3 separate regions of the Homo sapiens genome follow, and all the other regions are linked to region 3. Evidence: promoter capture Hi-C in 16 types of primary human blood cells and fetal thymus (Javierre and others, 2016). All regions are on one chromosome and are shown on one strand. Each heading gives the region's core, a stretch centred on a gene start or on the middle of the fragment in contact. The rest is flanking DNA. Distances are from core to core; before and after follow the strand shown.

The links. Contacts are between HindIII fragments. The CHiCAGO score rates a contact against its expected background, and 5 or more counts as called.
Region 1: a fragment that was not itself captured here is called in contact with the fragment with the promoter of EIF4A2 in region 3 in 2 of 17 cell types (naive CD8 T cells and total B cells); the score reaches 5.5 in naive CD8 T cells.
Region 2: a fragment that was not itself captured here is called in contact with the fragment with the promoter of EIF4A2 in region 3 in 1 of 17 cell types (fetal thymus); the score reaches 7.5 in fetal thymus.

The regions. Positions count from the first base shown.
Region 1 is chr3:185,944,405-185,947,334 of GRCh38, reverse strand. No RefSeq gene overlaps it. Among named protein-coding and RNA genes, the nearest start is that of TRA2B, 7.9 kb to the right of the region's middle. The HindIII fragment of the contact is 4,953 bases long and covers 1-2,930 here.
Region 2 is chr3:186,106,323-186,109,256 of GRCh38, reverse strand. It overlaps ETV5 (ETS variant transcription factor 5), which reads left to right and starts at 168. Exons shown (of 13, transcript NM_004454.3): 1 at 168-317. RefSeq lists silencers at 1-485, 516-615 and enhancers at 1-627, 1,386-1,445. The HindIII fragment of the contact is 3,357 bases long and covers 1-2,934 here.
Region 3 is chr3:186,782,176-186,785,065 of GRCh38, reverse strand. EIF4A2 (eukaryotic translation initiation factor 4A2) reads right to left here and starts at 1,489. Exons shown (of 11, transcript NM_001967.4): 1 at 1,427-1,489; 2 at 589-634; 3 at 370-502; 4 at 1-104. The coding sequence starts at 1,455. SNORD2 (small nucleolar RNA, C/D box 2) reads right to left here and starts at 270; the gene lies at 201-270. RefSeq lists an enhancer at 584-813. The HindIII fragment of the contact is 20,029 bases long and covers 1,289-2,890 here.

The DNA.
Region 1 (2,930 bases), core at 201-2,700, 840 kb after region 3:
GGGGCACCATAGACCCTCTTGAGTTCTTGACATCTCCATCCCCTTACCCTATTACAAGTCCACTCAATTCTGGACTCAAAATAGATCTACCACTGCCCTTTTTTCTCTATCTCCTTTGCTATTACTGTGTTGCAATGGTCTCTTACCTGGACAAATGCAATAGCTTCCTAACTGGTATCCTAGCTTTTACCTCCTTCCAACCCATTCTCCATCCAATGGGGAATGTAATCTTATAAAAATAAAAACTGAGTCAAGACATTCCCCCTAATTAAAACATTTCGATAGCTTCCCATTGCATTTATTTAATTATTTATTTATTTTTGAGGCAAAGTCTCACTCTATTGCCCAGGCTGGAGTGCAGTGGCACGATCTTGGCTAACTGCAACCTCTGCCTCCCGGGTTCAAGAGATTCTCCTGCCTCAGCTTTCCGAGTAGCTGGGGTTACAGGTGCCTGCCACCACGCCTGGCTAATTTTTGTATTTTTTTAATAGAGGCGGGGTTTCGCCATGTTGGCCAGGCTGGTCTCGAACTCCTGACTTCAAGTGACCCATCCACCTGCCTTGGCCTCCCAAAGTGCTGGAATTACAGGTGTGAACCACCGTGCCCAGCCCCCACTGCACTTAAATAACATCTGACATCCTTTCCATGACCTGCATAATCACTGCTGACTTATTATGAGTTAGACATTGTTCTAAGGGCTTTTTATGTAAAATAGTAATTCTTTGGATCCTGACAACAAGCATAGGAAGTAGGTATTATTATCATTCCTATTTCACAGATGAAGCCACAGAGGCACAGAGGTTACACTTGCCCAGGGTCTCTCAGAGAGCTACTGTGGAGGCAGGAAACAACCCCAGGAAGTCCAAGCCCTGCTCTCTGTACCACAGTCTCTGGTCCTCAGATGGACCCACTGGGATCCCATGGTTGGGTCTCTCTGTTCCTGGAACCCGACAAACATCCTCACCCCAGTGCCTTTGTGACCTTGCTAATCCCTTCCCAGGAACACAGTTTTCTCTGCTTTTTAAATGGCTGGCTTCTCACCCTCCAGGTCTCCATAAATAGGAATGGTATAATAGGTTATGGCACATATTTGCAACGGAATACCATACAACTGTTTTAAAATATGAGATAAATCTATGTGTACTGACGTGGAACAATATTTAGCATATTTTAGATTGCTAAGTGAAAAAGGCAAGTTACAGAATACCATGTTAAAATTTAAAAATATGAGCGGGGCATGGTGGCTCATGCCTGCAATCCCAGCACTTTGGGATGCTGAGGCGGGTGGGTCACCTGAAGTCAGGAGTTCGAGACAACAGCCTGAGCAACAGAGTGAGACTCTGTCTCAAAAAAATAATAAATAAAAATTAAAAAATAAAAAATATGTATAGCATGATTCCATTTGTTTATGAAAAGAAAATTTTAAGGCTGGGCTCAGTGGCTCATGCCTGTAATCCCAGCACTTTGGGAGGCCGAGGCGGGTGGATCGTGAGGTCAGGAGATCGAGACCATCCTGGCTAGCATGGTGAAACCCCATCTCTACCAAAAATACAAAAAATTAGCCGGGTGTGGTGGCAGGCACCTGTAGTCCCAGCTACTTGGGAGGCTGAGGCAGGAGAATGGCATGAACCCGGGAGGCGGAGCTTGCAGTGAGCCGAGATCTTGCCACTGCACTCCAGCCTGGGAGACAGCAAGACTCCGTCTCAAAATAAATAAATAAATAATAAAAAAATAAAAATAAAAATTTAAATTTATCTATCTAAGGTCTAGAAGGTTATGCACTACATTTTTTAACTAGGGTGACCTCTGAGGAGCGAGACTGGGAAAGAGAGGATAGAAAATAGGGTTTGCATTTTTCACTTTGCACATTTCTTATTGTTTGAATTTTTATCCCCACCCTATATTAGTAACATAATAATAATTCTAAGACAAAACATTTTCTTCATATGTTTAATGTTTGAGCTCTAAATTTTGTTATTTGGGTATTCTAATTTTTATTCTCTTCCTCTCTTTCCCAGATTTATCTTAAGTATCTGGAGAAAGTCTTTTATTTCATTCTTCTCTCTCTCTCTTTTTTTTTTTATTTTTTTGAGAAGGAGTCTTGCTTTGTCGCCCAGGCCGGACTGCAGTGGCGCTATCTCGGCTCACTGCAAGCTCCGCCTCCCGGGTTCATGCCATTCTCCTGCCTCAGCCTCCTGAGTAGCTGGGATTACAGGTGCCCGCCACGGCGCCCGGCTAATTTTTTGTATTTTTAGTAGAGACGGGGTTTCACCGAGTTAGCCAAGATGGTCTCGATCTCCTGACCTCATGATCCGCCCACCTCGGCCTCCCAAAGTGCTGGGATTACAGGTGTGAGCCACCGCACCCGGCCTCTCTCTCTTTTTTTTTTTTTTTTTTTTTTTTTTTGAGACAGAGTTTCACTCTTGTCACCCAGGCCGGAGTGTAATGGTACGATGTCTGCTCACTGCAACCTCTGCCTCCCAGGTTCAAGTGATTCTCATGCCTTGGCCTCCCGAGTAGCTGGGATTACAGGCATGCACCACCACGCCCGGCTAATTTTTGTATTTTTTAGTAAAGACAGTGTTTCACAATGTTAGCCAGACTGGTCTCGAACTCCTGACCTTAGGTGATCCACCTTTTTTAGGGTTCAGAACATTGAAAGTGATTGGTTGTTTCAACTCAATTATCTACAATACGTAGCCATAGTCAGCATAGTAACTCAATGTTGTTCTTAATTTCCACTCAGTCCTAAGCTGGTTCGTGAAGACCTGCCTTAATGAAGTCTCAAAGTTTTTGACTTCCACATTCATACTTCCAAGTAGTGAGTGGGTGTTCAGTCACTTTTTATACAGAGATGCATTAGTTCTCTGAGAGCACTCCTACACCACTCCCTTGAAGATCTCACTTACACAAAGTAAGGTTTCCTTGAC
Region 2 (2,934 bases), core at 251-2,750, 680 kb after region 3:
GGATTTGCCCGCAGACAGGGTAAACAAGAGGTGATGGACAGCCGCGGGAACGGCCTCTGGCCAATGGGAACAAGGCTGGGCTAGGGCCGCGGGCCAATGGCGGCGGGCGGAGCAGCGAGCCGCGGGGGGCCGGGCCAGCGCTCCAGCCTGGTTGGCAGCTGCGGCGCAGAGTCCAGCCGCTGGTGCGCGGAGCGGTTCACCGTCTTCGGAGCGGTTCGGCCCAGCCTTTCGCCCAGGCGCCCAGGCCCGCTGCGCGCGTGCGTGAGCGCGCCTGCGCCGCCGGGGCCGCTGCAAGGGGAGGAGAGAGGCCGCCTCAGGTGAGGGGGCTTTGCGGGGGCAGGGGGGAGATCGGAAGGGGCGTCCGGCCACTGGTCCGACAGGCCCAGCCGGCTAGAGTTCACGGGCTGATTCAGAATCTTCAAAGTCGGGGTGCAGTAGCTGGGGTGACCCCCCCCGGGTTGACCGCCCCCTCCCCCCGCGGCCCGGTCCGGTTTGGTTCCTGGGAGGCGTCGGGCGGGTGCGGCTAACGGTTCCGGAGCGCGGGGAGAGCGGCTTTCCACACGTCGTGGGGGAGGCGCCCCGGAGCGCGAGTGCGGGGGCTCCCGAGTGGATGGGGGATCGCGGAGTTGCGAGGCTTTCACAGTCTCTGGAGATTCGAGAGCCCCGAGGGGACTTGGAGGCTCGCGAGAAGAGACGCTTGGCGGAGCTCCGCAGTTGGGAGGAGGGGGCGGGAAGCAGTTTGAGGGGAATGTCTGAGAGGCGCTGCCCCCCAGAGCACCGGGAGGGGGTAAATGACACAGGCAAGTGCAGCCTGCGGGGGCGGGGGTCGACCAGGAACTTACGCAGGCCTTGCAAGTTTCAGGTGGTGGAAAGTGGACATCCAGTCGCCCTGCTCCCACCCAGCAGGCTGAGGGCGTCCGGCTGTGCGGCGACTCGAGAAAATCGGGGCGCACCGGAACAGCGGCCTGGGGATGGTGGGGATAACACGGGTGTGGAGGGGACAGCACCGAAAGATGCTGCAGCCTCGCAGCGGATTAGGGTTCCGGCCGCATTTTCAGAGGGTGGAGAAAACTCGGGGGGGAACCGAACTCCTGGTCGACGAGGGGGTGCCAGGGAGAGATGTTGGGGGTGGGGGGATTGGAAGCGGTTGGTAGCGCCGGGCGCCGCACCTCGTTTTTATGAATGTGGGTGACTTTATGAATGAAGCGGGTTTCTTTCGTTGGCTCGCTGCTCCCTGCGGCTTTTTTTTTTTTCTTCCCTTTTTGTGAATGAAGCATTGAGCTTTCTTCCTAAAACGCTGGGGTGAGGGGCCTGCGTCGGAGGCTGGGCGTGCGTTGGAAATGGGGGCGGGGGCGCAGCTGAAGGAGTTTTCATGAATGGGGAAGGCTGAGAATTGGGTGGAAGTGTGTCTTGTTTTGTGAATGGGGCCCAGCGCTAGAGATCCAGTTACAGCCTCTACCTGATGTGGCGGCCGCGGCTCGCTCTCCCATTCATAAAACCGGGCCCGCTGCGCGCCACAGGGGAGGGGCCTGGATCGCGCCGCTGCGCTGTGCTAAAGTTTTCCTGGGGGCGCCCGGGGCGCGGGTGGTGGGGGGGCAAAGGAAGTGGTTTAAACTCCTGGATGAACTCGAGCCTTTCCTTCAGGCTTTTAAAAAAATTATACTTGGAATACAATTTTTCTAACCCTGGAATGCCTCTTTTCCGTTCGTTTATGGCAGTTTATTTCTTTTAATTTTTTAGAATTTTTTTTGCTCTTCCGGGTGAAGTATTTCATCATGAGACTGAAAAATATCTCCCCCTCCCGTCTTCTACTGGTTGTCCCCTTCCTCCTAACACATTCACAAAATGTCTTAGGCCATGATTTAATCTGACAGATTTTCCTAAGCGACAGAGCACTCTCTCTTTCATGCCCCTCAACTCACTGCTGAGGTTTCTCAGATTTTGTATACGGTTTGGTGGCATTTGAGAGAGGCGTTATTCTGAACATTTCTTGTGGTGTTTGGACGGGGCACGCAGGCAGGCTGGCGCGAGTGTTTTTCTAGGAAGTTATGAACTGTGTGCTATTTTGCTCCTCTCTTTCCTTTGACTTTGAAAATATCTGATTCCTTGGGCCAAAGTGCTGCGGAGGATGCTGGCTGTGAAGGGTGTCCTTGTATCCTGCCCACTTATGAAAAATTTGATATGCTACACACAGTGTGAAAAACAAATTGGATGGAATTGCTCACCGGGGGAAAAGTTTCCTGTTTAAAATTGTGTATATGTCAAACAAAAGAAGTTGACCTTTAAGCATTTTGAATTGCTTAGAGCTGGAGTGAGTGAAATTAATGTTTTTCCACCTTTTGTTGACTTAACGGTGTTTTTATTTGAAGAATAAAAGTGTTTAGGAAGATGGTACCTCCCTGAAATTGTTACTTTATTCCACTCACGTTAGGAGAAGTTTTCTCCCTTCTAACCCCACCCTTTTTCCCCAGACTCACACACTTACCCGTCCTGAAATGAGTTTCATTTGGGGGTGGGGGGGTATGTCTAGAAAAAAATGATTCCGCTATATGAAACAGCCTAAGTTTTAAAAGACCTTTGGTAGAGATGCATTGTACCACATGCAATGGAATTAGTTTTTTTAATCCATTACTTTTCATAGACATTTTACTCTTTTAGAAGTTGGAGATGTCACAAATATCTCTGTAAGTAACCAGGGAGATATTTGTGACATTACAGATGCTATATCTGTTTAGTCCTCTTTTAAATAAAGAGTTGTGTGTGAAGATAAGTATACCTCTGATCAATTTATTCCAGGAACTATATATAGTGTTTTAACAGTGACCTACAAAATGCTTTTGGAAACACCATGTATGTCAGATCTTTAATTGCCAATAATTTGGAATACTTAAACCCAGTTTCTCTGCTTCCTGACACTGTACTGTCAAAAATTAA
Region 3 (2,890 bases), core at 240-2,739:
TGCTTGGGTCTCCTTGAACTCAATCTCCAACTGTTGCAGGATGGAAATAGCAAATGTGGCTGTCTTGCCAGTACCTGACTGAGCTTGAGCAATCACATCATACCCTAAAAAAAGTAGGATACACATTTACCGATCCCACATCAAATTGTCACTTCTACTTCACACCATGTATTCCATTTGGAACATTATGCCCAAATAATCAAGTGATCAGCAATGAGTATTCTCTTCATTTCAGGTCAGTCCCGAAAGATGATTGCCATCATTTCACTTTAAGGAATACAAACAGGTGCTAGTCCCCCAGAGGTTACTTTCCCTTTTATGGTTCATGTCTATGTAGAACAATTTCCTAAAAATGCCAGTTTCTTTTACCTTTAATACAGGGAATAATAGCTCTCTGCTGAATAGCGGAAGGCTTCTCAAAACCGTAAGCATAGATGCCACGAAGGAGAGACTCCTTTAAATTCATATCATCAAAGTTATCAACAATCTCATTCCAGTTGCTCTGTAAGTTAGAAAAAATAATGCACGCATAAATGAGATGAACACACTCACCTTTCCAAAGCTTCAAGATCCACAACCGTTTCTTACCTCGATGACACCATCGGGGTCCATTCCCTCTGGGCCGCCATGTTCTCTGCTGACAAGAATACTGCAGTCAGACACCCCTTCCAGGCCACCTCAACTGCACCTTAAGCGCATAGCCCTTTGCAACCCGTCTCAGCACGTTAGCCTCCCCTGCACAAGCTAAAGCAGCAGCCTCAGGGCGAATATCCACACTGTGCGCCTTCCCTAAAGGTTGGGGCCTGCGGATGCCCGGAAAGGCAGCCCCCCAGGCCCGAGCGCATGGCGATCCCGTTTCAACTGCGGAGCGTCTCGCGAGAGCTCGGAGCGCCGAACTCCGCCCCCAACAATGCGCAAGCCGGGTGATTGACGCGGGCGGAGCGGCCTGGCGAGGGCGATGCCAACGGTTCACCGGCACCGGTCCTGTCCCGTCGCCTCCGCGCCGTGGCCGAGTGGAGACCGCTGCCTCCAACCCTTCCCCAAGTAAAGCCTAGGACCCTCCCCCAACTCGTGTGGATGACCGAAAATAAAGCTTCGGGTCCTGGTTACAGTGTACCGAACTCGGACTGCGCCACGGCTTTTTACTCCATGTTTCCCGTGCTCTACACTGGGAAGGAAAGCAGCCGAAGTTTCGTAATGTCTTAGAGAGGAAAAACGCCCTTTAGCCACTGCTTTCGCACCACCGTCCTATCTCCCCACAATCCGGGCCCTACCCATCATGGAAGCTTCTGGAAGGGCACAGGAGTGCTGTACCCTAAGAAAACGTCCATTAATTTAGAGTTTTTGCCTCCGTGCCATCCACTATCATCTCCCCTGGCGCCCTATGACCTTCACTACAGACCGCGACCGCCAACAGACTGCATACCTGTTATAATCCGCGGAGCCACCAGACATGATCCGAAAAACCACTCAGCGCCCGACTGAAAAGACAGCGGCGCCCAACCACCCGTTTTTTATAGGCTCGTGGCCGGAACCCGTTTCTTGCGGAGGAATTTTCTCGCCGTGCTTCGGTCAGCTACAAAATTGTGATCCTGGGGTCGTTACCTCGGATAAAATCCTAAGCAAGTTGGTAGAAAAACCCAAATGTGGTAATTTCTCGATATTACAGGGTCGCTGGAAATCCTAGGGCCCGGGGTTGGGTTGGGACTCTTTACCTCGCGGCGGAAGAATATAGCTGCGGAGTTAGTTAAACCTCGCTTTCCCCGCCCGCCCTGCTCCTACGGGGTTTCCGCGTCCCTGACGCAGAGGCGGGCCGGGGGAGCCGCGCCGGAGCCGGAGGCGGAAACCGGAGATGCTGTTCGTCGGGCGGCCGGGGCTTCCCGCGGGTGACAGGTCCCGGCTCGCGGCTCGCTGCCGGCACTCAGGTGCGGGAGGGGAACTCGGTTATTCCGCTTGCTCCCACCGCTGTTTAATTCCACAATGAAGACCTGCCTGGCATTTAGCCCGACCGTTAACATCCATTCAGATCTTGGAAACGTAAAATTCCTGCTAGGGAAAATGTCGGCCACCCAGCGAGTCCCGGGAAGTCCGGTTTACCGGTACATTTTGCAGCGCGAGAAGGAAAAATGGAGTGTCATTTGCAGATGTCTCTGGAGTGGCCAATTCTATTCTCATATCATTTCCGGTCTCTCGCTTTCTTTTTAAGAGTGTTACTGATTTTAACCTAACAGGTGTGAGGAATGCCTGAAAAAAATCATAAACTTTTGCAAATGGATAGAAACTAAGCAGTAATTTTCCTTGGAACGCACGAATTTAAATGGACGCTTTGGCAGATACAGCTCTGTGCCGCTTTGGGACTACATCGGTTTTGATTCCGTCTATATTGGTCATTTTTTAAAGGCTGTAGACTTTGCCGATATATAGTGAAATGTTGATTTATTGAAATTCAGAGCAATAATATCCTTGCTGCGTAAACTGCACGGGTCTTTAAGCTCCAGACGTTTTCAATTAGCCCCATCTCAGGTCTCTCGACAAAAACAAAAAACAATATATGTAGTCATTTAACTTTAAAATACAACCCTACCCATGGTGCAAAATATCATCGAGACTATCAGGGTAACATTTTCTCATATTTCAGAAGGCCAACTTAAAGAATCATTACTGGGAAAGCTGACTCAATTTTCTATATTATAGAAGATATTCGGTTCTAAATACTACTTTTTTAATACAAAAATTATTTATTTATTTGAAAATTCTTATCGTGCCAGGAACTAGGACAAAGATTAAGAATACCAAGATGGCAAAGTGGGCCAGGCCCTCAGTCCAGTGGTACTGCTCCTCATTCATCCCTCTGTAATGTTCGAAATCCAGATTTGAGGTGATGCCAGAT